Linked DNA regions of Homo sapiens: all the other regions are linked to region 1. The links are contacts of gene promoters, found by promoter capture Hi-C in blood cells and fetal thymus (Javierre and others, 2016). All regions are on one chromosome and are shown on one strand. The core of a region is centred on a gene start or on the middle of the fragment in contact, and the rest is flanking DNA. Distances in the headings are between cores, read along the strand shown. Region 1 holds the start of LPP-AS2 (LPP antisense RNA 2). Region 2 holds the start of LOC124906316 (a long non-coding RNA gene). Region 3 overlaps LOC100131635 (hCG1645011-like). Region 4 overlaps LPP (LIM domain containing preferred translocation partner in lipoma). Region 5 overlaps BCL6 (BCL6 transcription repressor). Region 6 has its middle 8.3 kb from the start of BCL6. Region 7 overlaps LPP (LIM domain containing preferred translocation partner in lipoma).

Region 1 (4,120 bases), core at 1,107-3,606:
CCTCAAATGATGAATTTAAGATATATCCAAACTCCTTAGCCTGGCATTTTTAAGCCCCTTTATAACCAAGTTTCCTCTCCCGTCCATCATTTCCTGGAACTGTCTTCACCAGAATGTGTCACTCTAAGAAAGATCCTACTCAAGTCCCAGCCACAGCAATCAGCTCATCAGCTCAGCTTCTCCTCCCTCTGCGTACACTCAAAACCAACTCTAGACCCATGCTGCTTACAGAGAGCCTGCCTCTGGGGGGACTGCCAGACCCTAAGGCCCCAGGCTTTTACCCCTACCATTCAGAATAGGTAATCCCCTCTGGAGCCTACATTCTAGACTATAAAGTTTTGGGTGTTGGGGTTGGGGCCTGCATTGTAGAAATTAAATGCAAAAATGCACACTCTCCTTTGTTTGTTGTTGTTGTTTTTTGTTTTTTTTGAGAGGCAGTCTCCCTCTGTCGCCCAGGCTAGAGTGCAGTGGTGTGATCTCAACTCACTGCAACCTCTGCCTCCCGGGTTCAAGCGATTCTCCTGCCTCAGCCTCCCGAGTAGCTGGGACTACAGTTCCCCGCCACCACACCCAGCTAATTTTTTGTATTTTTAGTAGAGACAGGGTTTTGCCATGTTGCCCAGGCTGGTTTCTAACTCCTGAGCTCAGGCAATCCGCCCGCCTTGGCCTCCCAAAGTGCTGGGATTACAGGCGTGAGCCACCGTGCCTGGCCCACACACTTTTTCCTTTAACTGCCCCCTGGTGCTGGCAGGAACTGTGCAAGCAGAAAAACTGGTGACGAAGTGGAGAAAACCATATTGGATGTCCTAACCCCCCACTGTCCACCATTATTGACCATAGGCTCTAGGTCTAGCACCCACCTTCGTGGACCTTTACCTATTCTTCTATCTATAAGAGTTGAGGAAGGGGGAGGATGGGAGAGGGAGCTAGATGCTTTGTAAAGGTGCCTAGCCACACTTTCCCCTTCTTCACTTTAGGCTTTCTTAAAATGCACATGTGCAGGGAAAGGTAAGCCATTAAGTCATCAACACCTTAGTGAGAGTGAATTTTACAGGAAAGGCAAGAGATTTAGTAAAAGGGGAAGGAATGGAAAGAGAAAGGGGACTGGAAACACAGTTAAGTGAGTTTGGTACTAGCAAAAGCCCCAGAGAAGACCCTGAGTTCTCGCTAGTTGTTTTGTGTTGGGGGAGGGAAAGCAGTGGATCCCTTCTAAGGGAAGGGAAGCCAGAGAGATTTTTCAGTTCTCCTACGACTCCGAGGTTCCAAAGACTCTGCCCTGTCCAAGCACCCAGGCACAATTCCACTGATTAGCTCATCTCATATCACAACCTCCCCCATCCCCAACCCCTTGCCTCCAACTAAAGAATATTTATACTTTCATCTCCATTTCCCACACTACTTAGTCTTCTCTGGCCCACGGTTCCCTCGAAGAGATGTCTTCCTCCAAGCCGCTAGCTGGCTTCAGGAAACTCCTCAACCTCCAAAAACCCCATTCAGTGCAGGACTCTCCAAAAGGCCGTCCCAGGGACCAGAAAATCAAACCCCCTCCCTGGAACTTCCTTTAACTTTGTCCACGCCTTTGCTCCAGCACTTAGCATTTTCTACCCTAGGCCAGGTTTGACTCCCAGGTTCAACTGAGTTCCTTGAGGGCAACGTCCAATACACCCAGCACAGGGTCTGCCACACACAGGGTGCTAGAGAAATGCTTAGAGAAAGGGAACTTAAGTCCGGAGCCAACTATTTGAATTATGGTCTGGCCTCTAGTAAATAACTTCCGGGCGACCCTCCTTCTCTCTGGGCCTCAGCTGCCCCAACTGTAAAATGGGAGGACTTGGAGGACTGGGTCTAGGCCCTTTCCGCTGTGACAACTGTGATTCCGCGAAAGCTCTAAGCGGATGGGCGTGGCCCCGCCCCCTGGGCGCCCAGAAAAGTCCGGGCAGGGGGCGCGCAAGGCTCCAACCCCGCCTAGCCTGGGGTCGACGCTTTTGGAAAAACTCTGGGTCCCCCTCCCCCATGGCGTGCACCCCGTGATTGGGCCGCGGCCGGCACTTCCGCACAGCGGGCCAGGCCAGAGCAGGGCGCGCGCCCTGCGCTCTTGCCACCCCGGAGGCGCTCGCGCCGGGGGAGGGCTGGGGGTTCCCGAGGCGCCCGCGGGTGGAGGGTGAGGGGAAGGAAGGATTTGCAACAATACCTCAGGGAGGAGGCAGCCGGGGCAGCGGCGGTGGTGGTGGCGGCGGCGGCGGCGGCGGCGGCGGCTGGAGGCGGAGGCAGAGGCAGAGGAGGAGGTGCCCGGGCACTCCCCCTCCCATTGTCCCCAGCCCCGGACAGGCCCGGCCCCGCGCCCCACACTGGCCTCCTCGAGCGCGCCGCCCGCGCCCAGCGCCCCACGCCCCGCGCCCCGGGCCGTGCAGCCAGCCCTTACCTTGCAGCGCCCGGCTGTCTCCCGATCGCTAAAGCTACTTATCCCGGGAAAGCTCGCGCGGGACCCGGGAACGAACCCACAGACAAAAAGTGAAACTTCGGCAGGGCTGGAGCGGCTGCTGGTTGGTGCCTTTCCCCCTCCTTCCTCCCCACCGTCCCCACCCCCTCCCCTTGGTCTCCCGTGCGGTGCCCTGAGCGCTGGAGGCTGACGTCAGGGGCCTGAATTCCTGACTTTGCCTGCACGCATTTGTCCATGTAAGGTATGGGAAGGCGTGTGCCCGCGAAGCCGCCGCGCAGAGCTCGCCTGGCGGGGGAGGGGAAACCCGCAGCCGGCAGTGGCTTTGCCAAAAGGTGGGCGCACTGAGGGCATTGCATTTCCTGGGAGGAAGAGGAGGAGACGCGGGAATGCAGGGAGCTTGCAAAGGAGGAAGAGAAAGAGGGAGATGTGGAGACTTTGCCCCTGCTAGAGGAAGAGGAAGGAGACGTAGGAGGAAGCGGCCGCGTCAGGGGGCTCCTGGAAAATGGAAAAGCCTGCGTCTACTATTAAGGCGTCAAATTAGGGCACTGAGCTTGAGTGGAAGAGATCCAGCCATGAAATCCCCTTCCAAGATTTTCCTCGTGAGCCCCGCCCTGGATTCCCAGCAAGACTCAAAACTTACAAGGTGTCAGAGCTGGCAAAGACCAACTTCCAACCCGTCCGCTTGGCACGTGAGGAAACTGAAGCTCTCGGAAGAGAAATGACTTGTACAGGGTCGTCACTCAGCAGATCGAGGAGCGGGCCCAGGCGCTCTGCCTCCCACTTGGGTTCCCGCCTCCAGGAAGGGCCCTGGCTCCCTTTTAGCCCTGAGCCTTGAAGCAGGTTAGATGCCCGCGAGCTGTGCGGACCACCCAGTGATTTCTACTGCTCTTGGCCCAGAGCCAGTTCCTGGAAGGTCCTGGTTGACAGCGAGCCCTGAATATCAATGACAATCAGTTGCTTCAGGGCAACTTCCTCTGTCCTGTGCTCAAATAAATGAATCCCTGGAGTTTAACGTTTACTTCTGAGCCCCGCCCAGAAAGCTTGCTCTGTGCTTATAGCTTCAAAAAAGTCTGCGAACGAGATGAACTGGTTTGAATACAGACAAGCCTGTCATTGGAAGTTTTGAGTTGGATTTTTCTTTCCCCTCTGACATCTGTAAGGGTGAACGACGATGAGAACCACCACTTAACTGTGTTAGGGGATTATGACGCGCAGCAGCCATGGCCAGGAAAGCATTCCATACCCTGAGACTTCCTTTCCTTGCACTTCTCTCCTATTAATATCTAAAGTAATCCCTCACGTTAGCACATAATGAAAGCAGTCTCTCACCCGGCTATTGCATCTTCAGGTGAGTTAGATAGGACAGAGCGTAGTCCCCCCTTTACACCTCAGACAAAAACTTAAGAAACGTTACTCGCCCAACACAAAACAACTGACTGACCAAGCACCTGTCTTCCCCTCCTCCCATCCAGGTCTCCTGACTAATCCCTTCATCTTTCCATACCTGGCCCTGACCTCTAGCAGGACCTAATTCCATTCATAACTGTTGAGAGTACACCATGAGCTACTGATTCATAAAAACTCCAAAAAGTGGTTCTTCTGAGGATGGACTTTAGTGGGATTCTTTTGACCAGGAATTAAGGAAATAATGTAAAAACACATGTTATTGGATTTATTAAG
Region 2 (4,120 bases), core at 697-3,196, 490 kb before region 1:
ATGGAATATCCTTTGTGAAAATGGAACATTCCTGCTATTAAACTGAAAATGACAATGACGATAGCACTTTGACAAGATAACACAGTGATAAAAACATTTTGTAGCAAACACTTCATATGCCAGAATTAGAATCAAGCAAACACTCTTTTCCCTTCCTGAAGCATTACAGAAAAGAGGAAAAACCTTTTTAGAGAGGAAGAAAAAATATTTTTTGACATGTGCATCTTAGCTTGGTTACAAGAGCTAAGAAACCAATACAACCTAGCAACATGCTGGCCCAAACTGGCCAACAATAAAATAGAAAGGGGAAAAAATAAACCTCCAGTGCCAGATCCATCTCAAGTGGAAATTTTCTTGGTGCTTGAGCACCAGAGTCATCATTAAACTCTGGAGAAATTCCCCAGCCTCAGGAACACTGGAAACAAATACCCAAATGAGGGTACTATTTATTTAAAATAAGGGTACCATACTCAAAGTGATTCAAGAAGTATGAAGGCTAGATAGAGCAAATGAAGGAATGAATGAAGGAGAGACAAACAGGACAGAAGACAGAGATCTTACTGCAGTGGGCCAGAGATGATATCTGGGTGTCTGGATACGACGTGAGTGCAGCAGTACACATGAACAGCTCATGGTTCCCCACCAATCCTCCTTGATGAGTATTCATTGTCTGAAATGGAAACCTCATAAGCCAGTTATGAGCACTAAGCAGGATCTAACTTCCCATCCTGATTTGGCATTATGTAAACCTCTGTGAGCTCAATGGATTCCCAGGGGCCTAAGGTCTTCATCTATGGAGTGGGAGTAAGGCATGATCCTTTAGGAGCCTTTGCTAGTGGTGAAAAGAATTCACCATCCCTATGTAGCCCATAAAGATTGTAGAATCACATGATGGCTCGTTTTTTCTAAGTAATACTTAGTGAAAGTTTAATCTAAAGTCAACTACATCATGTGCTCAAGTCAACTAAAGTACTACTATAATGCAGAGCACCAACATATTAATGGAATATGAGGAAGGTTCCATTAAAATTTTCCTATTTATGTAGTGTTCTATTGTCCAAAAAGTACTTTTTCATTGAGTCTCATGTTTGAACCTCACAACAAGCAGAGTGAAAAAGGTCTAATGATTATTCCAGATTTACAAATGAGAACATTGAGGCTTAGTAAGACCAAACGATGTAACTGAAGACCCATCTTTGACCACAGGCCTTATGTGCTGACCATATCCCACAGCTTTTTTCATCCAGTCTTCCCTCACCTTTAATTATGAAAGAGGAACACTTTTTGAGAAAAATATGCTAAAGTAGCCACGATAGAGCAGAGAAGGATCAGGTCAGGACAGCTGTGATACATTACAGAAATGACCGGCAGTGACTCTTCTTCAAAGAACGTGTTTGAGGTAAGCTCAGGTGCTCAGATGCTCTCTCTTAAATCCATGCAGACAGGGTGGAGGTGATGCTTGTTCTGAGGTCCCCATAATAGCCAGGACTAATGTGAATGCACTCTCTGTCTCACATCCACACCTCCTTTATTGTCTCTTGAAAGTACACAAAGGGGACCATAGGGAATGGCAGGGAAAGCTTTCTTAACCTTGGAAAGGCATTAGTACCAGCTGTGTCCTGAGGTATAAACACGCTAAGTCAAACAAAACCCAAGAGAGGGCAGGAGAAAAGGAACAAGTGAATCAAGTCTTCTGTTTACAGTCCTTGCAGGCAAATATTTTTTTTTTTCAACTAATGAAAGATCCATTCATGAAGCCCTATCTCCCAATTAAGCGGGCACTTTCCATCAGGCACCGCAGCAGACGCTCTTTACCGGATCAAGCCAGGCCCCCGGATACAGTGAGCCCTGTGTGAGGACCACAGCTGGCATCCCAAAGTCAGCAGAGTCCTGCACAGGGTGGGCCCAGGTCAGAGCTGGATGGTGGGAAATGCAGTGTGTTCACCTCCACCCTCTTCTGCAAGTGAGCTTACACAGGGAAATCCAGAGTAGAAGTGAACAGTTCAAAACAGGGGTTCCAACTGTTAAGAAGAAGGGTGAGTGGATGAAAAGAAGTAAATATTAGTTGAATACCTATTATGGGCCAAGAACTAGGCCAGACACTGGCATGTTATCTAGCTCAATTAACAGCAACACTCTGCTTGGCACATATTCACAGTAAGGCTCAGGCAGGGGAAGCAACCTAGCTAGACACAAATGTCCAGGAAGTGGCAATGAGATGTGTATTGAGGTTGCAATGATTCCAGAGACTGTATTTGTTTGTTCCTTTTATAGCTTCCTGATGATTTGTTCGGTTTATGCATCTAAGCTTCAGCACCATGTGATAGAAAGGGAACTTGTGTTTTGTTCCTAGCTGAGAAACTTTTTGGCTTTCTGCCAAATGTGGGGCATCAGTTGAGGTGATTTCTAAGGAACATTTAAGATCTGGTAATGTTCTAATTCTGTGGCATATAGGAGCTTTTTGTACTTAAATGTAGCAAGATATCAGTGGTTTTGAGGTTGTGCCCCACAAAATACCAATTTGCTTTGGGTAATTCTGTATGCACATCCTTGCCTTTATAGGCAACCTGACTCCTACGGGCCTCAGTTGCATCATTAGTAAAACAGATAACAAAAACTCTGCCTACAATCATTCAAAAATATGCAGGGAGAACCAACTGAGTTTATAGTACTTTGTATGCAAAGAATTATTTTACAGATAAAATCAGCATCATTGTTCTTCCAGGGGCTAGCTTATAGGGTTCCTGATCATTCACTGGTAGCCAGGACTGCCTCCGTAAACAGAACTTTGGGTATGGTTCTGTTTACCATATTATGCTCCAGGTGACCAGCTGAGGTTCTGGCTGACCATCCTTGGTCACTCCCTGACTAAGGAATAAATCCTGAAGGAAAAAGAAGAAAACACTGATACTTTTACCCTAGGGTGAATGAATGAAGCTATGAAAGTATCTGTCCCTAGCAGGCTGAAACACAATATCCATAATATCATTTCTTCCTAACAACAACCCTGATAAAAAGAAAAAATATTTTCTTCATTTTACAGGTAAGGACATATAACAATGTCAAAATCGGAAGAAATCTTAGACATGATTTCATTTATTTCTCTGTTTAGATTTAGGAAAACTGAAAGCCAAGTCTTGGAATATGTAGGCAAAGCTTTAAAATATAAAGAAAATATAAAGATAAGGTCAGAATTCTACTTTTACCTAATGATTATAAACATTTTTTTTCCTGAAAATTTTGCTTAGATTCAGATCCATTTGTCTGATATAAATTATTTAAGGAATTTATTTTCTGTTTTTTTTTTTGAACTTATATTTGTCAATCAGGGCATGACAAACTTTGCAATCCTCTCAGGGTAAAAGAAGTATATAAAAATTTTCTTATAAATGCACTATCCCTTTAAAAATATTTTCCTATGAACAAGAAAAGAAGGGCTCAGTAGGTTTATCTGAAGCTACTCTGGGTTACAAAGGAGGGCACTGGCAAAACTGATATTAAAGAGAAGGGATCCACGTTCCCACACTGTAGGTATTACTGCGCATTTGTCTCCTAATGAAAAGTGACCTTGTACTCCATGCACGAGACCACACCTCACATAACAACATCTGATTTTGAGCCTTATATTTCTTAACAGGGATGAGGACAGGACCCCGAATACAGATGCTTCAGATGCTTCTGAAAATCATATTTATGAAGAAGTGCTTAAGCACTGAGGATGGCCATCCAAATGGAGAGACGACTGAAGAGATTTGTGAGTATTGTCTTCAACGTATCTAAAGAAAGCATACAAACAAAGGTGCTTTTCCTCTCTCTCTCTCTCCAACCCTTCCTTATTTCTTTCCTTCCATTAAGGAAAAAAAAAAAAAGTTCTAGAACTGAGAAGTAGGACAAGGGTTTAGAAATAATGGGAAAGAGCTTTCACTTATTCAAATATAAAAGTACTTGCTTTGGAAGGTAATAAGCATCACATCACTGGAAATAGTAATTACAACGATAATAAAAATAACCAGTAACTGAGTACATACTATTTTCCAGAAGCGGCTAGGTATTCACATGTATTTCTCATTTACTCTTTACTATAATTCTATATGTAGATGCCATCGTACCATTTTGCAAA
Region 3 (4,120 bases), core at 1,094-3,593, 440 kb after region 1:
GCTGTAGATCTAGGTAGGTCTTTAAGAAATAGGAATCACCAAGAACTTACATACCAGGCCATCATGGGCTTGACAAAAACCTCAACAAGAACTGGAGACTATTATAGTTAATCATGTCTTGAATTATCATGGAGTATTTGAGCTTACCCCACTGATGGTCTCATCCAGCAGTTCTGTACCATAGGAAGATTTCAGACATTCTGCTTCTTGCTCTCCAGATGATTCTGACTTAGAACCAGTGGTGAGAATTCTGATCGAATCCAACTCTATCATAAAGGAAAGGAAGCCAAGTGACATTAAGCAAAGAAATTCTATAAGGACTAGGACACAGCTCCCCCAAGGCCTATGCCAGTATTAGTTCCTCGGAAATAATACTACCATGATTTCCTATTTCCAGAAACCTCAGTGCTGCCACTAAATGGTTACCTTCTTCATATACATTCATGTATCTGATTACTTCTTTGACAGAACCCTGGCGGGGGGAACCTTATATCAATGAACAGGAATTATAAAGAGGAAGAACTCAGCTTGATAGAATAAAGGATTTCCTGTGTCTAAAGATGGAACGGGCTTTGGGTGAGCATCTGAACTCATCACTGAAGGTGATTTAAGCTTAAGATGTGTGGTGAGTTGGCAGCAATCTTGGCTTGCAGGGAGGGTTGGATTAAATGACTCTAAGGTCCCTTTCAAACTTGAGATTACACAAGATCCTACCCCATTTAGAAACTGATTTTAATCATGGCGAGGGATTCAGAGTAAGTGTTTCCTCCTAGGAGTCTCAGGACAGCAGGGCCATGGAAGTCTGGGGGCCATTTGCGGAGGGTTGTAACCTGTAACCTGTAACCTGTAACCTGAATTGCCCTGCACTCCAGGGACCAAGTTGTGTCTTTCTTTGTTTTTTGTTTGTTTGTGTTTTTTTTTTCCTAACGTACAGAGGCTTACAGTTTCATACATATCATTTTCTAATAGTGAGGCTATAATCTATCTCCCATCATTTCTACCTGGTGCACCCTATTCTTCAGTCACATGGAGAAGCTCACCATTTCCCAAACCTGTGAGGCTTCAGTGTCTTTGCAAACACCAAGACCCCTGCCTAGCAAGTCTCTTTTCTCCATTTACCCTCCCTTCAGTCCCTCTCTTCTTCCAGCCTGTGAATTTCTTCAGCCTGAACAACTGTGAGCGTCTGTACAGGTTTGTTGAGTGACGGAGCAAAGGAGTGAGTGCATGATTAAGGGTTCCTACTGGTCCCTGCTTTCTCTGAGGCTGTTCTACTGGTGCATTCTAGCAAATAGCCACAAGGTGGCAGGGTAGACCAAGCAGTGAAGGCTGTAGGTGCCACTTTTTCTGGCTCCAGGGAAGCAGGAAGGTATAAATGGGGCCAGTGCTATTTTTTGAGTTGGTCTCCTATGGCTTTGTACCTATTCTCTTTCTAAATCCTCTTCGTCATCTCAGCAGAGCCATTTAACAGAACTGACTGAGGGGCTCTGGCCCCCAAATCTTTCTTTCGGAGATCTACTTGAATGTGTGTAAAGTTCCACTCTGAATCATTCCTTTGGGGATCAGGAATTTCCAGCTCTTCTCGAAAAGGTAAGGGGTTATATCTCAATTCTTGGGCAAAAGAGGCCAATTCCTAGTAGAACTGTGGAGAGAGGCAGGGGTTTATGATATGACACTAATCTAGTGTCTAGTATAACAAACTTTACAAATCACAAAAGCCTTTCATCTCCAAGGGTTCACTTAATCCTCACCACAATCTCGCCAGTTAAGGAAGCAAGATATCCCATTTGGCAAGTGACAAAACTGAGGTTCGGAGAGGAGAGCCTAAGAACACCTGGCTAGCGGGTGAGGGCCGAGAACAGACCATTTGCCTTCTGACTTGCTGTCAGACACTCAGCTAGCACAGGCAGTAACTTTGTGTGTCAGTGGTTGAATTAACAAAAAGGTACACCTATCTTTGTGAGGCAGGAGAATAGGGTCTGGAGACAGAGAACCTAAGGCCAATTTGCACTGGTTTCCTAGAACTGAATAAAAAGGAAAACCCCATCTCTCCACACCCAAGTAACAAAAGGATCCGAGGCTACTCCCTTTGCAACTTGCTCCCCCCACCCCTCCTGCTTTTCTGCCTTGCAAATTAAAAATGAAAGTACCTCTGATTGGTCCCCTCCTGCAACCAATCAGACTGATTGTAGGCCTAGTCTTCACTTGCATAGGGTGTAACTTTGTAACTTCATGTTAGCCTCTGATTGGTCACCTTCCATGTCCAATCAGATTGGTTGTGAGCCACTACTTCATTTACATAGGGTGTGAACCAAGTAATCAATGGGAAGCCTCTAGAGGGTATCTAAAGCCCAGAAGATTCTGTAACCAGCGTTCTTGGGGTGCTTGCTCAAGCCCACTGCCAGTCTGTGGAGTATACTTTCGTTTCAATAAATCTATGCTCTCTTTGCTTTATTCTTTCATAGCTTTGTTTGTGCATTTTGTCCAATTCTTTGTTCAAAATGCCAAGAACCTGGACACCTTCCACTGGTAACATTTGTGTACCCTTGAGCACAGCTTTTTCAACTCACAACAGTGTAAGGAGAAAATTTAGGCTTTTAGGGTTGGTATTCTCTTAGGGTCAAAATTGTAAATTCTGGGAGTAGACAGAGAGGAAGCCACTGGGACATGCCATGGCGCCCACCACCTGCATCACAGTGTAGGCCCGTGTCCCTGGACGGCTGGTGCCTAGGCTGTGGGCTGGGTACATCTCAATCTCCTCCCTGCTCCCCTTCAGTGCTGAGGGCCTGAGGAGGTGCCCCTTAAGCACTGGTCTCCTGATTACACTCAATGACTCTGGGTGGTTTTGGGTGGGAGACAGCATCAAATCCCTGCTGTCCTGGGCCCTGCCACAGTGAGACCCAGAGCAAACAGCTTTCGCCTTGATTGAAGACCAGGCTCTGCTGTTGACCAGCTACTGGCCTTGGTCAGGAAACTTACCGTCCCTCAGCCCCAGCTTCTGATTGCAAATGCAAAGACTGTATAGGATAATCTTCAGGACCCCTTTTGGAAACAGTGACAAGGACTTTTCTGGTCAAAGTAACTGAGTGATGGAGGTAGGAGATTGCTCTCACTAGGGGTGTTCTGGGAATATAAACCATTCGTTGAGACCGCAGAGTTCTAATTCCTCGGGTCCAGCCCTTTCTCATCTATTGTTCCCAAGTTTTCCTGCATCCAGGAGACGAACATGCATGGACTCAGGACTTAGAGTTTTCTTATTCATGCCTCCTGATATTTTCACAATTCAAAAGGGGCTAACAAAAAGACACTAGTTATCAGAAATTCTAAGCCATTTTTCAGCTCACAAGGGGCTCAAAGTTCCTCTACATGTAACAATATGGAACTTTGCTGAGACACACTTTGTCTTTTTAAAAATAGTATCTATTGTTCTGAATTTAATTTCAAAGTTAAAATATGTTAAATATACATAAAAACTTGAAAAACAGCTATGACAAAACATAATAAATAACATTTATTAGACATTCACCATATACTAGGAGCATTTAAAAGTTTTTTAAATTTTTAAATAATTATGGACTCACAAAAAGTTACAAAAAATAGTGCAGAGAGGTCCTGTGTACCCTTCTGCAAGTTTCCCTCAATGGTAAGGTCTTACCTAACGATAGCACAATATCCAAGCCAGGAAGTTGACTCAGTGGGTATAATCCACAGACCTTATTCAGACTTACATCGTTTTACATGCACTCGTGTGTATGTGTATGTGCGTATGTGTGTGTGTGTGTTTCTATGCAATTTTGTTGTATGTGTAGATTCACATGGCCACCACCACAACCAAGATATACAGCAGTTCCATCATCTCGAAGACCATTTGTGCTACCCTTTTATCGTCATCCTGTTTCCCTCCCTTCATCTCTAACCTCTGGCAACCGCTGATCTGTTCTCCACCTCTATAATTTTGTCTTTTTGAGAATGTTCTATAAATGGAATATATAAGTAGAAAAATAATATTAAATAACATTTACTGAGCACTCACTATGTGCCAAGAACTGTTTTTGGTTCTGTGCAAGTATAAGCTTATTTGATCCTCTTCGGAACCCACTGTAATCATCTCTTTTATTATTCT
Region 4 (4,120 bases), core at 1,200-3,699, 420 kb before region 1:
GCTCTCCCCACCCTTAGTAAAATCCCCTGGGATGCTTTTGGCAGGATTCAGCGATGGCTTTGGCAGCTCTAGCCACGTTCCTGGAATCCATCTGCAAGTGCTGGTCAGCAGAGCCTGCTTCATTCCCTTTTTGGTATTAGTCAGTAAAGGTTAAGTGTATGTGAATTATCATAAGTTTATTTTTAGTCTCCCACTACCCCCTTTTTTTTTGGTAAGTGATCAATGACTACCAGGCACAGGAAATACATTTCACTGAATGATTTTCTAAAATCAAAACTCCATCTGGGCTGGAACTGAGACAGGATTAGGAATGACCATTTATAACATTAATATCAGCTACACTAAACTACTGAAAGATGCTTAGAGTGGGGAAAGGGTCTTCACCTTTGCCTGAAAGTACTTCCAAGGCTGAATCCTGGCTCCTCTGCTAGCCAATGTGTTGTGTGTAATAGCAGCACATGCAGCTGGTGATCACATTGTGACTCAGTGCACCACGGGGAGAGAGGGTCGGACGGATGAGGAACTAACTCAGAATTGTAGAACAGAAGTCTCAGCTAGCAAGTACTAAATGTGGTCTCCTTAGTTGAACAAATCAAGTTGAAAGAAAAAAAAAAGTGAGGGAATGAGTTGCTAAAGTTAGTTTCCTTAAAGTGAGAGATAATATTTCCCCTTTAAAAAGTAAGACACACAAAAAAACCTGTCGCCTTCATTGTGGATTAAGTTAATATTATAATAACTAAAACTAGTAGCATAGCATGGACTGATGAAGACAGTATTATAAAATGAAAATTAGTGTCAGTATAGCAGGGGTAGTCCTGGGATGGGGAGTAAAATTCATAGCCACAGCCATCTGGAGAAAGAAGAAAATAAAGTATATAAGCTTTAGCTATTAGGGACCCAAACTCCTGGCTGCTAGGAAGGAGGCCAATCAAGATTTTATGAACCTTAAAAGAAAAAAGGAAAGGAAGAGAAGGAAAGTGGGGAAAGGGCAAGGGAATGAAAGGAAGGAAGGGAAGAGGAAGGACCATAGTGGCCACTCCACTTGAAAGGGGTTTACTGCAACCACCAGTCTTATGTGTAAATGCTCTCTCTCTTCAGGGTAGTAGGCAAGGATGGTCACTCTATATTGAAATTATTATTAAAAACAATAGTTATATCTTTGTTTTGAGATAGATTCAAGTACAGAGACAAGGACAAGCCATCATCTTTCAAAAATCTCATCTCTTTTTCTACTGTAGTACATTTAAGATCTAGGTTTCACAGTTTATTCTGTGAAAGATTCTGGTTAGTGACTTTCTGGAAAGAAGGAAGGCGGCAGGGAGGGAGGAGAGAGAGAGGGAGATGGAGGTGGGGAGAGGAAGACAGAAGGGGGAGAGGAAAAGAGAGAGAGAGAAAGGGCAAGAAAGAAGAAGGAAGGGGAGGGGAGGGGAGGAAGGAGGGAGGGAGGGAAGGGAAGGACAGAAGGAAGGAAGGAAGGAACGAAGGAACGAAGGAACAAAGGAAGGAAGGAAACCAAAGAGAGGAGAGGAGGGAAACAGTAGAAAGGAAGGGAGGGAGAAAAAATGTAATAGTTTTTAATTTGCCTTTGTAGATATTTATTACTAAAGTTTTTTTACTTGCAAAACATATGTATATACATACATATACTTATATAAATTTATTAAAATATATAGTATACATACATTTATAAATATATTAATTACTGTATGTAAAACAAAAGCAAAGTAGGCTCATTAGAGAAAATTTAAAGATAAGTAGAGAAGTATAGAAAGAAGCCTGTTCCCAAAATCCCAGAAATAACTGGTTAGTGTATATTGACCATTAGATTTCAAGAAATACACACATGTACTTCTATATGTATGAAAATATATTCACAATTCAGATAACATATAGATTTGTCAATCATATTAGGCATGGAAGTAACTAGGGTGTATGTCTTATTTCACATAAGAGAAAATTAGATGAGAATAATTTGTTATTGTCAGGGAAATAACAGAATTAGGATTTTTTAAATCCAAAGCCCTACAATTATACATAATGAATAGCAAAGATATTTTCAGATTAAGTCTTACAAATCTAGAAAGTGTGAGGCAGAAAAAGCCAGTGTTTGAGAGCTCAGTGATCTTAAAAACAGCTACTGTCTTACAGGGGATTATTGCCACTTTGCCACTTCCAAAATGCTTCTTACTCCTTTCTACACAACACGTCTGTATGATTGCCAATGTTATCCTTCCATTTTACCCAAGGGGAAATGAGGCTCCAAGATAACCACGCTGATTAATGTCACCAACGCAGTAAATCATGGAGAAAGGACCTGGATGTCTGAAAACAAATTATTTTACAAGTGGAAAAGTTAACAAAGAATGTACAATGTTTTCTGAAAATGTGTAATTCTCTTCATCGTTTTGAACTGTGACTTCTGGAAATCTGCTCACTGGTGATGGAGATAGTCACGGAAGTATCACCCATCAGGACACAGTAAGATGCAGCCTCTTCTCCTCCCTGATTACTCTCATTTTGGACAAAATATGCCTACGATATGTAGCAAGACTAACATAATTTTCCTGTTAGAACTTCAAGAATTAAGATTCAGTGTTGCTAATCCTTGATTTGTTTTCTGCGATACAGAAGACAGGCCCTGAGACTCTGGTGACTTGGTGGTATAAAGTGAAGAGCACTGGACTGCAAATAAGGAATCCTGTACTCAGAACCCTGCATCACAGAATAGCCTTGCAAATGAGCAAGCCCGTCTCCTTACCTTTACCTACTCTACAAAACAGAAAATAAAGCGGATGAAAATCATAGAGGTACTAGGTAATGTGCCTGGCGCCATGTGTGTTATGCAGAATGAACCACTCAACATTCTACCAGCCTACCGTTTACCATCTCAGAGAGTGAGCCCACAACCCACTAACATATAATGAATGTCCTTTCCTCCAACCTGGTACCACTCAGTTCAACAGTGGCCATATCAATTCAATTGTTTAAATTCTGTGTACTTAAAGGAAATGCACCAATTGGTTTGAACTAAAGCAAATTCCTGCCCTATTAGAAGTGTGCAAAGACCAAAGAATATCAAAGGGCTACGACCTTTCCTGAATCAAGTCTGGATTTAAACCAATGGCCTTAAATAAAATAAGAAATACTAAAATAGAGAACATTAGCCTCAGTAGTTAAGAGCAGGGCTTTAAATCAGTGGACCTTGTGTGCTTGGGGGTGGAAAGTATCCAGATGACAGGCTTCTTCTCCAATAGGGCTTCTTTCCAAACATTTCCATGCATGTCTACTCACTACTGAAAGCTCAGGGTCCTAAAAGATCATCACATTTTATTCCTCAAATCCAGTCAATCACATAGAGGCATTTTCTTGTTTGGCTTGATAGAATAGATGAGAATGATCCCACATGATCCTAAGAGGCAGGAACAACTGGTGAGAACCCATTTCTCAGCATGCTTCAATCAAGAAGTCCACGTCATCAGCAGCGCTAATTTAATTTAAAAAAAGCGGTGGTGCTATAATTGGCTTGCCATTCTAGCTAGTGGGTTTCCAGGGTAACCGTGTTCTTGCCACAGATAAAATCTACCTAGTAGCACAAAGACTAAGGGTTTGAGAAGAGTCAGCATCAAATGAGAGGTCAAGAATTCAGCCTGAAGAGAGCTACATCAAAAGCATATTTAGTTAAGGTGGACCGGATCCAAAATCTGAGCCCTGCCACGTACTAGCTGTACCATTTCAGAAAAAAATATTTAACTTCTCTAGGCCTTGTTTCCTCATCTGCAAGATGAACACAATAATGGAACCTGTTCTTGTAGGATTGTTACAGGAATAAAACAGAGAACTTAAACATTAATTTGTACATTTTAAATCCAGACTAAACGTAAAATAAATAAATAAGACTATGACAGATGTCCCTAAACCTAGACATTCAGAGACTAGGAAAACTAAAAACAAAAAATCAAAATAAGTTTTGTTTTCTTTTTAATTTACAACTTCAGAGAAAAAGCATCCTGAAAGCTTCTGAAAAGAGCACAAAATGGCTTGTAAAACTACGTTGTTATACAGCAGTGCTCATGTTATTACTGCCTCCCAGGACCTGACTCCTGGGAATATGCTGCCATGT
Region 5 (4,120 bases), core at 580-3,079, 420 kb after region 1:
TGGAGATTGTTTTTGTGGGTAGTCTTGTGTGTGGCATTGGTGGAATGGCTGAATCTAGGAGACGCGGCGTGTCCAGAACTTGCTGGAAATTGGTTTTGAGATTTTGGGCAAGGCCTCTCACCCGGAGCCTCAGTTCCCTCCCTAATAAAGCAGGGCTGTTATAAGGATAAGATGCAATCTTGAGGGGGTGGGAAAGGACTAAGAGCTCTGTAAAAATACAAACCAAATGCTGGTGGTGCTTCCACACCTGCGGCATTTGGGGTGGGGGTGGTGACAACATTGCCCACACTCAACCCACACACTCAGGAGTTGGGGGGGGCTGGTTCTTAAGACGAGTTGGCTTGCAAAGGAGTGAACTTGAGAAGGACCTGCGCCTCGTGTATGTACATTTGTTTTTGGCCAGGCAGAGGCTTACGGTGAAAAGCCCAAGGCCCAGCTGACAGTGGACACAGGGGAATTTGTTTGTTTGTTTCAATCCGCATCTGGAGTGAGTCATTGCCACTTGTCATGGTGAAATGGCAAATCTGGGCTTCCTGTGGTTCCAGAAGCCTGCGACTGGAAATCCACAAGCGAGCTGGTGGTTGAAGCTGGTTAAAGAACAGCCTAGGTATTCCAGAAGTGTTTGAGGATCCCTTCCATGAAGGAAGAGAGGAAAGTTTTTAAGTAAACCTCCCACTCCCATGTGTCTTCAGCTTTCTTTTGCAAAGGAGAAAATCCTTGAAGTTTGGTAAAGACCGAGTTAGTCTATCTCTCTTTGCCTATCTCGAGTTGGGCTGGGGAGAGGAGGAGATAGGTTCTTTTGTCTTTTTCTGTCTTCTCCCTTCCCCACTTCCTTCCCTCCAGTCCCCACTCACTCACATGCACACACTAACCTTGGAGCCGATGGGATTGAGTGACTGGCACTTGGGACCACAGAGAAATGTCAGAGTGTTTGGTTACAGACTCAAGGAAACCTCTCATTTTAGAGTGCTCATTTGGTAAGACTCAGCAGCCTGGAATGGGGCAAAGTGTTTGTGTGGGGGAAGGAACTTAAAAATGAGATTCACCCACATCAGGGTGCTGTCTTGCATGTTCTACAGCACGTAGGCTGATTTGGAAAGGGGACAGGAATTTGAGCCAGAAGACCTAGGGCCGGGTCACCAACCATGTACATGGCCCAACATGACCTTGTTGGCCTCAGGCCTCTTTACCCAGAAAATAGCTCTAAAAGGTTCTGCTTTTTTTTTTTTAAAGGGGGGAAGACAGTTCAAATATTGTTTTATTTTGCAGCCCACATTTGATCATAAATGAGGGTCTTACACCTGTGCTTTTAATGATTTTGTTTTAGAGAAGCCGGTTTGGAAGGAGGTACATATTTCATTAAATCTCTTCAAGGTTTAGTGCTCCCTGGCCAGTTCTCAGCTAAATCACATAGTTAAGTCTTTTACCAGCAGGGAGAAGCACAAACTTAGAAGCAATGGCATTCTGTCTGGTCTTAGACCCAGTAGGGAAGGGAGAGAACACTTTGAAAAAGAAGACAAAGGTTTTCAAGGAATACGTAGACATGACATCTCAGGCTGTGTTCTGCAGAGTCTATATTCAGTCTTAATGTTTCAGATGGGCAGGAAATACTGCCTAGCTGTTTGTCTTGAGCAAGCCACTTGAACCCCTAAGTCTCAGTTTCATCGCCAGTGAAATAAGGATAAAGATATTGGCCCTATCGTCCTTGCGGAATCATTCTAAGGCTTGAAAGATAATATTTTAGCAGGTTTTGAATGACGTCCAGTGGTTTTAGGCCACGGACGAATCGTTATTGTTAATGTTGACAGAACCATTTTTCTTATTTTTTCTTTCCCATAAACTCTAGTGGCCTTTGGATAGTATAAATTTTTTCTTTGAAGAAGGAAATATATGTATGTATGTATGTATAACTAATTAATGTATGCAATTGTACTCCCAGTACTCTGGATAAAAACATTATTATCTCATAGCTTCGGGTGCCTGTTGTTTCCGTAAGAGCAGAGCTGGAAAATGTTTGTTAGCTTGTGGTAAAACCACACCAGCTGGCAAGCTGCAACTATCAAAGCAAAACTAAATGTGTATGTCCTAAAATAAGACTATAGTGGACAATCTTACATTCGTTAAATCAATTTCTGTTTGCTTTCTTCTCTTCTCTGTAGGTTTTGAGCAAAATTTTGGACTGTGAAGCAAGGCATTGGGTAAGTAAATAAAATTATATGCTTTAAAATGTTGGGACAAACTGTTTCTTTTGAATTTGCCAATACATGTGTCTCTGTGAACTTTGCCACTGTTCATTATATGAGACAAGGATAACCAGTTCCCTCTACATCACTCCTAGTCCTCATCCTTCACCTCTGTATTAGACTGTCTTACCACTTGCATGGTCAATCATTGTTACTCTTTCTTTGTACAAACTAATTTAGCCAGCTAATGTTCACCAACAATATGCTAGCTCCTCGAGGTACAAAAGTCAAGCAACTCTAAAGCCTAACAGTAGAGAGAGACCAATGGTGACTGAGATGATGAAATAAGATACCTATGAGAATAGCTATGAGTTTTGAGAGCCTCCTATGAACGAGGAATGTATTTCTAACTTTTATAACCACATAGGTATTACTACTTCCATTTGGGGAAACCAAAGCCCCAAACCAGTAAACAACCTGCTTAAAGTCCCACAGCTAGCAAAAGGCAAGTCTAGCCTGATAATCTTAAAACACAGTGTCTTGACTGGGCGCGGTGGCTCATGCCTGTAATCCCAGCACTTTGGGAGGCCAAGTTGGGCAGATCACGAGGTCAGGAGTTTGAGACCCAGCCTGGCCAACATAGTGAAACACTATCTCTACTAAAAATACAAAAAAATTAGCTGGGCATGGTGGCAGGCACCTGTAATCCCAGCTACTCGGGAGACCGAGGCAGGAGAATCACTTGAACCTGGGAAGGCGGACTTGCAGTGAGCTGAGATTGCACTATTGCACTTCAGCCTGGGTGACAGTGTGAGACTCCATCTCAAAAAACAAAAACAAAAACAAAAAACACGGTGTCTCTCCATTGCAACATACTCACTACCTGTCAGTGCTTGGCAGAGTATTTGGTATGTGGGAAAAACACTCAACAAATATTCATTCCCTTTGCTTTTCCCCTAAAGGGCTTTCTATCCCAACTTGTTGGATAAAAGTTATTCTCCCCATTTTAAAACTATGAAGAATAATGGCCAGAGTTGGACTATGAATTGTTCAAAGATCAAATACAAGGGACCTGAGTTGCATTCTGTACCTTAGCAGGCTAAGCCACCTGCTCTGATACCTGTGGCAAGCAGGAAACAGGTTCTGGAGGACTAACAGGATTTTGGCCTCTTTTTTCAAGTGAAGACAAAATGGCCTCGCCGGCTGACAGCTGTATCCAGTTCACCCGCCATGCCAGTGATGTTCTTCTCAACCTTAATCGTCTCCGGAGTCGAGACATCTTGACTGATGTTGTCATTGTTGTGAGCCGTGAGCAGTTTAGAGCCCATAAAACGGTCCTCATGGCCTGCAGGTGAGGGATCTGAAAGGAAAGGGTGGGTAAGTCAAAGTGGGGTGATGGTGCTGGCAGCCAAGCAAGGCAGAACATGTGGGCCTTTTACTGCATCTGGGATGACGTCTCGCTTTGTCTCCAGATCTCAGCACCATGGCGTGGCACAGTAGGCTCCCAAGTGAATGAATGAATGAATGGATGAATGCACTTTTAGAAAAGAAAGAGCCACGTTCTGTGGGCATAGAGGGAGAAAAATTATATACTGCCCCAAGAAAGGATGTGTTTGGGGCAGACATGGAGAATAACTTCAGTTAACCAGTGAAAAAATGAGAAAAGATTTCAAATGAACTTTCTTTGTCTTTAAGTAGCTTAAGCAAGTTAATTTGAAATGTTTTGCTCTTTTATGCTATAAATGTATTTATTTTTTGCTACAACTGAATTTCCATGGGTGTTCAGAGTATATGCAAGAGTTAGTGAGAGTGAACTAGCTGATTCTTCATGTTTATCAAGTATTTCGAGTTTTCAGAGCAATTTTATATTACATGATATCATCTTCCTGGATCTTTTTAGTAGTCTTCAGTGTTATGCATTACACTATTGCCTTCAT
Region 6 (4,120 bases), core at 539-3,038, 400 kb after region 1:
TTCATAATCCTACTACTGTAAGAGAGCTACTGTAAATATTTTTGTCAATTGTGTACTATTATTTACATCCAGTCTATTTTCTACAAAGAATATATTTTTAAAAATTGCTGTGAATATACTGTATACAAATATTATATAGATATATAATATGCATATATCTCTATATACATATTCTACTTCTTTCCACTTTACATATTACCATAAGTATCTTTCAATTCTAATTTTTCGAAATTAGTTGTATTGTAATTTACTTAATCATTCTTCATCCAACATTCTTTCTTCCAGCCTAGTCATGATAGGACATGTAGGTTGTTCAAATTTTTTGTTGTTAGAATACAGCGCTAGGATGCATATACTCATTCACTGATTTTTCCTGTATGTTGAATTATGCATTAAAGATAGATTCCTAGAAGTGGAATCTCTGGGTCAAAGGGTCTGCTTATATTTATGATTCTTGGTATATGTGGCCAATATATCTGAAAAAGTCATACTAATCAACACAGTAGGACCTAGTCTCACTGCACTTCACCAAGAGTTATTTAAATGTTGGCTTTCACAGTGAATATAAGTGTTAGTTCAAAGATCTTATAACTACTTGGCAGAGAGGCCAATAGATGTCAGAAAACATGAAGGGAAGAAGAGAAGAGACACTTAAAACTCAAGTGCAGCATTAGAAGTAAAAGCCATTGATAACTGACAATTGGTTAGAAATTAAAAAAGCATCTTTGAAGTCATAATGTACATCAATACAATAACAGGCCTCAGTTTACCAAAGTGGATACTGCAACAAAATAAATGATTCGGGGTGAACTGGTGATGGGAATCAGCTCTGCCACCAATTTGCTAAGTGGTGTTTGCAAATTGCTTTCCTCTCTGGACCTTTCTCAACTGTAGAACTGGTAAGCCGAAAGATGAAGATAGATGCTTTCAGAATTTAGAGAATTGGGTTGTACTCAGATAATGCAGACAAACTCATAGGGTTAAGGGGTCTGATAGGAGCTTCTCCTCTGTAGACACCGAGACTCATAACTCTGATGAGATCCACAGTTCTATTGGAGTTGTGCAATGAAATAGCAGACACTCTTGGAATCTCTTGGGGCTCCCCCAACTTCATGAATGAATCTCTAAGTTCTGCATGCCCCATATAAACTGATGACAAGATCTTTGAGAGCACTGTTTCCTTAGTGGGTTTCCACAGAGAAATTTTGAATATGGGGGTCCACGAAGTGGCTTGAGCCATCTACCCCAACAACAACATTTGGCCTTTGGTGCCTCTCTAGTATTCTCCTGATGGTTATGCAGATGGTGGCATACAGAAATGGAGTAAATTAGTAAACTAAAAGAATAAATGAGGTGCCCCATTTCTCTGACTCTATTCTAGGAAAATGAGTGAGAAGCAGGATCTCCCAGATTTCAGGAGAGATCTGGGTCACTTTTTGGAGGTTTCTGGTATTGAAAATTATATATATATATCCTCCAGCTGTATATATATATATATATATATATATATATATATATATATATATAACATCTCTATATGATATACGTATCTATCTATACCTCTATAGATATCTATAGATATCTATCTATATCTCTATATGATATATAGAGATATAGATATCTCCTCCAGGTAATAGACTTAATTTTTAAGAACATGTTTCAATTCACAGAAAAATTGAGCAGATGGTACAGAGAATAACCCTGTGCCCAGTTTCCCCTATGATTAACATAATACATTATATGGTACACGTGTAACAGTGAAACAATATCGGTACATTATTATTCACTAAAGTTCATCATTGATTCAGATTTGTCTAGGTTGATCTTATGTCTTTTTGTGGCCAATTATTCCATCTAAGATTCGACATTATATTAAGTTGTCATGTCTCCTTAGGCTAATCCTTGCCTGTGACAATTTCTCAGACTTTCCTTGTTTCTGATGACCTTGATGGGCTTGAGGATTACTGGTTTTTTGTAGGACGCCCCTCTACTAGAATTTGTCTGATGTTTTTCTTATGATTAGACTAGTATTATGAGAGCAGGACCACAGAGAGAAAGAACAATTTTCACCACATCCTATCAAGAGTATATACTATCAAGATGATTTATCATTGTTGATGTTGGTCTTAATCCCCTGGCTAAGAGAGTGTTTGTCAGGCTTCTCCTAAGCTATTTTCCCCTGACTACCTTTCCATACGGAATATACTCCCCGGGAAGAAGTTACTATCTATAGCCCACAATTAAAGAGTGTGGGTTTCTGTTTCTCCTCCTTAAGGCCGGCACATGTCTATAAATTATTTGGAATCCCTGTGCACATCTATATAAATAAATTTGGAATTACGGGATGTTTGTCTTTTCTCTCTGGTTTATTAATTTACTTAATAATTTATTTATAATAGTATGGACTCATTACTTTTTTTTTTTTTTTTTTTTTGAGAAGGAGCCTCACTCTGTTGCCCAGGCTGGAGTGCAGTGGCACAATCTTGGCTCACTGAACCTCCGCCTCCCGGGTTCAATGGATTCTCCTGTCTCAGCCTCCCGAGTAGCTGGGATTACAGGCATACGACACCATGCCCAGCTAATTTCTGTATTTTTAGTAGAGACAGGGTTTCACCATGTTGGCCAGGCTGGTCTTGAACTCCTGACCTCAAGTGATCTGCCCACCTCGGCCTCCCAAAGTGCTGGGATTACAGGTGTAAGCCACTGCACCCAGCCCTGGACTCATTAATATTTATTTTATACTTTGGGTTATAATGTAAAACACTATTCTATTTTGTTGCTCAAATTGTTGCAGCTTTGGCCACTGGGAGCTCTTCAAGTGGCTCCTGTGTCTTTTTGAAATATCCCTCACCAATGTAGTTTTGTTTTTGAATAATTCCTTACTTTAAGGTGCTACAAGATCTTTCATTCTCATTTGTGTATTTCCTGCCCCAGTTTTAGAACTCAACAATTTCTCCAAGAAGCCTTGGTTCCAGCTGCTGAGAAATGGCATTAAAACTGAGACCAGCCTGGCCAACATGGTGAAACCCTGTCTCTACTGAAAATACAAAAACTAGCCGGGCGTGGTGGTGCAGGGCTGTAATCCCAGCTACTCGGGAGGCTGAGGCAAGAGAATCGCTTGAACCCGGGAGGCGGAGGTTACAGTCGGCTGAGATCGCGCCACTGCACTCCAGCCTGGGCAACAGAGTGAGACTCTGTGTCAAAAACAAAAACAAACACAAAAACAAAACAAAACTGAGCTCTGAGCACCAGGTGTGCTTGTTGCTACGACAAATATATTTCAAACCTTATATTTTTAACACCAGCACCCACACAACTACAATACAATTGCACTATTCATAAAACAATTATAGATTATTAACAACATTCAATCATGGTGTCATAGGAGCCTGTGGTCCTACACTGGATCCCACACACAAAACTTGCATATGATGGTCATCTTCTTTCAGTCCTGTTAGGATTGAAAGAGAGATGTATAGCCTCAGTGGAGATAATATCAAAAGTCTAATTTTATTTATTTATTTCTTTCTTTATTTTGAGACAGGGTCTTACTCTGTGGCCCAGGCTGGAGTGGTGCCATCATAGCTCACTGCAGCCTCAAATTCCTGGGTTCAAGAAATCCTCCTGCCTCAGCCTCCCAAGTGGCTAGCACTACAAGTATGTGCCATCATGCCTGGCTATTTTTTTTTTCTTCCGTTTTTTTAGAGACAGGGTCTACGTTGCCCAAGCTGGTCTTGAATCCCTGGTCTCAAGTGATCTTCCCACCTCAGCCTCACAAAGTATTGGGACTACAGTTGTGAGTCATTGTGTCTGGCCCAAAAGTCCAAATTTGAGGCCTTCTTTGGATGTGTGGCCACAATAAATGGCTCTTGCAAGGCTGCCAACCCCTTACACTCTTTCCATAATATGCCATAAGAAAAGCATACTGGATTTAGAAATAGGGCATGAAAGTTCTGAATCCAGCTGTGTTAGTGTTATAGCATATATAGCAAGTGGATTGTGTCTGGGCCTCAATTTCCAATGATACAAAATCAGGAACATCAGATTGGATAATGGCTAAAGGCCCTCCCAGTTCTAGCACACTATAATTTTCAACAGACTTACACTGGGGGAATACAAT
Region 7 (4,120 bases), core at 822-3,321, 350 kb before region 1:
CTATATGGCGACAGAATTGAGAAGGCCTTAAATGGAGAACAAGTATTTAACATATTTACAACATGAGCATAAAGATATAGAAGGAACTCTGCAATGTGCAAGTGTACTTGGCAAACACGAGTGTTCTTTAAGGTAAAAATAGAGTAAGAGCAGACTCAAAGGGTCAGCTGTGGTCAGACAATGCAGGTGTGCAAACCAAGGCATATAAGGAGATTGGCTCTTACCCAAGGTGCTGATATCTAAAGGATAAACACATTCCCCATGACGAAGGAGAGAGTGGGCAGGGGTAATTGTATCTTGGGACTTAGTGTTGATGTGGGAACAAACACATGGTATGAATCACACATATTTCAGGCTGAGCACAGACAATTTATATTAAAACACTCCCAGCAGAAATTCCTATTTTTAGGAAAAAGGTTGCCATTGATAAAAAGTGAGTGAGAGACCGTATCAGAAAGCTACTGATTTCACCTTAATCAGAAATGAACGTGATTCCACAGCACAACAAACAAGGGTTATTGGAGCACGTACACATTTCTGCCTTAGACCCAGGGAATACAATGCAACAGACTGCTATGACAAGACTTTTACTTTGCTAGGTGGAGGCTGAAGAAAGTCTAAAGGAGGCAAGGAATAATGTCGTCTCAAGCTTCACTATTCTTGTCTCAACTTAAAAATCATTTCTATACCCCAGAATTCTGCTCATGTCTCATTTCAGGCTTTCTTATGAAATGTTCCTTTTTTCAAAAAATATTCAGAGTCAAATAATAATCAAATGTCTACTATTTACTCAGTGACAGTTTAGTACCTCGTATTAAAGAAATGAGACAGGCCCGGTGCAGTGGCTCACGCCTCTAATCCCAGCACTTTGGGAGGCCAAGGCAGGCGGATCACAAGGTCAGAAGTTTGAGACCAGCCTGGCCAACATGGTGAAACCCCATCTCTACTAAAGATGCAAAAAAAAAAAAAAAAACAACAAAAAAAAAATTAGCCAGGCATGGTGGCACACAACTGTAATCCCAGCTACTTGGGAAGCTGAAACAGGAGAATCGCTTGAACCCAGGAGGCGGAGTTTGCAGTGAGCCGAGATCATGCCATTGCACTCCAGCCTGGGCGACAGAGTGAGACTCAAAAAAAAAAAAAGAAAAGAGAGAGAGAGAGGAAGGAAGGAAGGAAGGAAGGAAGGAAGGAAGGAAGGAAGGAAGGAAGGAAGGAAGGAAGGGGACAAAAAAAAATGAAAAGTTGAATTACTCACTTCCAACTTTCCTTTTCACCTCTCCCTTGTTCCAATGTGAATGTTTTTCTTTATGGGACGGGTCCACTTAAGCCGAGTTTACAGTCTCTACTGTCAACTGCAAACTCTGTCAGTGCCAAAAAGAATCCCACCTGTTGTTCAAACTTAAAGTAAAATATATGCCTAACCAGGTTAAGATAGAAAGGATTAAACTGGATGTGATGTTTGACCAAGTCGTATACTCTTAGTTTTAGTGTCTTCTTATGAAATAAGGGAGCAATAATACCAACCCCACAGGGATATTTTGGAGACCAGGTGAAATAAGGTAGTAGAAATCATGTGTCCACTAGAATGCTAAGCATACGGTAAGTCTTCTGCACATGTTTTCTGGTGGTATGTTGTGTATAAAAGAGGATTACAGGATTATACTTGGTGTGTTATAAGAGAATTTGCAGCTATTAAATAAAAAGCCCTTGGTCTCAGGTGAAGCTAGATTTTGGTGGCCAAAGATACGTCCTAAAATAAGAAAATACTGGAGTTTTGAAAGGAAGCTAGCAACCTTTGAGGACAGAAGCACCTTCGATATCCATGAACATAAGATTTTCCTAAGCCCCCTCCTAGATTTACCAAATCTAAACCTTTGAAGGCAGGGCCTAATAATTGGCATTTAACAAACCCATCGGCCTCACCCCAATTCTTGTCCATGCTAAATTTGAAATCTGCTGGCCTAGAATTTGGTTGCCAGTTGCTAATCCAAGTGCTAACAATAACTGGAACAATTTAATTAAAATCCCACAACTCTGAACACATTAAAGAATTCTTTACTAATGTATTCTAACCCAATTCCAGGGGACAAGGAAAATACTTTTCTCTCATTCGACAGTTTCTGTGTTCTCACCCGCAGTGCCAACAGAGAAAACACAATCTACTTCACTTCTCCTCATCTGTCGAAATGGCAAAGACGTTTACCACCTCGAAGGAGTGCGAGTTTCCATTTACTGGTGTTAATAAAGTCTTCTGAGTGTTCTCATAAATCAACTATAAGTTGGCATTATTCATAGCACCCTGTTGGAGCTTAATACATATTCAATTAAAAAACAATGACAACAATACAGCAATATCCACAAATTAGCATTAATTATAGCAATGCATTATTCTCACCCTACTGCTACAATTTTGTCTAGGCAGAGCTGTTTATGTCTGGAGACTGTATAGTCCCTTTCATTAACAAAGGGCAATATTTGCTCATTGGTATCAACATTTCCTCTAGTAACATTCACATCACACCTGCTTCAAAGTCCTCATTTTTTTCCAAAGGATTCTTCCATTTGCCACATACTAGGACAGGAAGGATATGTATTCTCCCTGAAGAAAGTCACAATCCTGCCAAGCATCCTGGACTCTTCTCTTTCCCATAAGCCCCCTCTTTCCAAATTGCTTTTGATTCTTGTTCCCCTTCTCCATGGTCATGGCCACCACCTTGGTTAAGGTCCTTGTCTGCCTCAATGGACCCCTGAAGGTGACTCCAAGACACTCTGTCATCACCATTTCTGATCACTTGAGTACCACTATGTTATAGCAATCCATCTAAATACAGATCAAATCATTTTATTTACTAGCATAAAAGGCTCTTTATCGTGTCCTAATGATATAGCCTTAGATTGGAAAAATCTCCCAAATGCCATCACAACTATTAAAGAAAAATTATTTATTTGAATTGGGGGAGTAGCTATAAAGCAGTCAGGGAAACTTTTACCAAGGACAGAAACTGAAGCAAAAGGAACAGCTTAAGCAAAAAGCTGCAAAGCTATGTGTCTCTTTATCTTAGTTCAGGTTTCAGCCTTTTCCAGGGGGCAACGATCTGGTAGTTGGCCAAGTTCCCCACTAAATATGAAAGAACATCACCATTCCCTTCCCTGCCTTCCCCACCTCCGCCACCCATCCGCGCTTCTCTGGGGCACCACAGCTTATCTTGCTATACAAGGTTTTGCTGACTCTGGTCTCCTGTTCTGCATGAGCCTTTCACATGCATAGTTGAGGTTGAGGAATCTGTGCCTAGTGGGTTTGAGGTTTCATCAAGAGAAAAACGGGAAACTTATGTGATTTCACTGAGTAACTATTTTCACTACAAAAAAAAAAAATTCCCATATTTATTTTTTCCCCCTTTCGAAATGGCACTAAGGAAACACATGCCAGACTGCCATGAACAGAGGCTGTACTTTCCAAACAGTAGCAAGGACTAAAAATAGAAAAGCTTGATTTGCTCAAGATGTATATAACTTCCTCTCCCATTTCCTCTCCCCACCACCCTGAGTCAGTATACAGAAGCAGTGCACAATGAACCCTTTGCATGCTTACAACAACCCCAAAAGCATCAAAAGGGTGATAAGTATACAGACTTCATAGTCCTTTCCCAGAGAATTCCTATTGCACAGTCGAAGAAAGAATAGATCAATCAAGCCACAAATATCAATCAAGTAGCTATTCTATCTTCTCGCAATAAAATAAAGGTTATGGGCCGGGCGTGGTGGCTCATGCCTGTAATCCCAGCACTTTGGGAGGCCGAGGTAGGTGGACCACGAGGCCAGGAGATCAAGACCATCCTGACTAACACAGTGAAACCCCGTCTCTACTAAAAATACAAAAAATTAGCCAGGTGTGGTGGTGGGCGCCTGTAGTCCCAGCTACTTGGGAGGCTGAGGCAGGAGAATGGCGTGAACCCGGGAGGCGGAGCTTGCAGTGAGCCGAGATTGCGCCACTGCACTCCAGCCTGGGCAACAGAGCAAGACTCCATCTCAAAAAAAATAAAATGAAATGAAAATAAAGGTTATGGGTGATACAGAAATATGGGTTGTGATCCTGCCTTCAGGCAATTGCTAAAATAAA

What was found. The method cuts DNA at HindIII sites, captures the fragments that hold promoters and counts their contacts. A CHiCAGO score of 5 or more calls a contact.
Region 2: a fragment that was not itself captured here is called in contact with the fragment with the promoter of LPP-AS2 in region 1 in 1 of 17 cell types (naive B cells); the score reaches 5.5 in naive B cells.
Region 3: a contact is called between a fragment that was not itself captured here and the fragment with the promoter of LPP-AS2 in region 1, in 1 of 17 cell types (neutrophils). The highest score is 5.7, in neutrophils.
Region 4: a fragment that was not itself captured here is called in contact with the fragment with the promoter of LPP-AS2 in region 1 in 1 of 17 cell types (total B cells); the score reaches 5.5 in total B cells.
Region 5: a fragment that was not itself captured here is called in contact with the fragment with the promoter of LPP-AS2 in region 1 in 5 of 17 cell types (neutrophils, activated CD4 T cells, fetal thymus and 2 more); the score reaches 9.8 in neutrophils.
Region 6: a fragment that was not itself captured here is called in contact with the fragment with the promoter of LPP-AS2 in region 1 in 17 of 17 cell types (neutrophils, activated CD4 T cells, megakaryocytes and 14 more); the score reaches 21.0 in neutrophils.
Region 7: a fragment that was not itself captured here is called in contact with the fragment with the promoter of LPP-AS2 in region 1 in 1 of 17 cell types (M0 macrophages); the score reaches 5.7 in M0 macrophages.

The regions. Positions count from the first base shown.
Region 1 is chr3:188,152,324-188,156,443 of GRCh38, reverse strand. LPP-AS2 (LPP antisense RNA 2) reads left to right here and starts at 2,356. Exons shown (of 1, transcript NR_036497.1): 1 at 2,356-4,120. It overlaps LPP (LIM domain containing preferred translocation partner in lipoma), which reads right to left and starts at 2,287. Exons shown (of 12, transcript NM_001375462.1): 1 at 2,192-2,287. RefSeq lists enhancers at 154-1,052, 2,852-3,752 and a silencer at 2,080-2,419. The HindIII fragment of the contact is 6,292 bases long and covers 1-3,482 here.
Region 2 is chr3:188,644,998-188,649,117 of GRCh38, reverse strand. The region is part of intron 7 of LPP (LIM domain containing preferred translocation partner in lipoma); the gene reads right to left. LOC124906316 (a long non-coding RNA gene) reads left to right here and starts at 2,814. Exons shown (of 5, transcript XR_007096213.1): 1 at 2,814-3,043; 2 at 3,638-3,754. The HindIII fragment of the contact is 728 bases long and covers 1,583-2,310 here.
Region 3 is chr3:187,711,768-187,715,887 of GRCh38, reverse strand. It overlaps LOC100131635 (hCG1645011-like), which reads right to left. Exons shown (of 3, transcript NR_034062.1): 2 at 148-266. It also overlaps a transcript of RTP2 not described here. Among named protein-coding and RNA genes, the nearest start is that of RTP2, 11 kb to the right of the region's middle. The HindIII fragment of the contact is 3,458 bases long and covers 615-4,072 here.
Region 4 is chr3:188,575,121-188,579,240 of GRCh38, reverse strand. The region is part of intron 6 of LPP (LIM domain containing preferred translocation partner in lipoma); the gene reads right to left. Among named protein-coding and RNA genes, the nearest start is that of LPP-AS1, 8.5 kb to the right of the region's middle. The HindIII fragment of the contact is 3,134 bases long and covers 883-4,016 here.
Region 5 is chr3:187,732,947-187,737,066 of GRCh38, reverse strand. It overlaps BCL6 (BCL6 transcription repressor), which reads left to right. Exons shown (of 10, transcript NM_001706.5): 2 at 2,160-2,198; 3 at 3,364-3,534. The coding sequence starts at 3,374. Among named protein-coding and RNA genes, the nearest start is that of BCL6-AS1, 8.7 kb to the left of the region's middle. The HindIII fragment of the contact is 8,715 bases long and covers 1-4,120 here.
Region 6 is chr3:187,751,730-187,755,849 of GRCh38, reverse strand. No RefSeq gene overlaps it. Among named protein-coding and RNA genes, the nearest start is that of BCL6, 8.3 kb to the right of the region's middle. The HindIII fragment of the contact is 8,209 bases long and covers 1-4,120 here.
Region 7 is chr3:188,506,727-188,510,846 of GRCh38, reverse strand. The region is part of intron 5 of LPP (LIM domain containing preferred translocation partner in lipoma); the gene reads right to left. Among named protein-coding and RNA genes, the nearest start is that of LPP-AS1, 60 kb to the left of the region's middle. The HindIII fragment of the contact is 2,839 bases long and covers 652-3,490 here.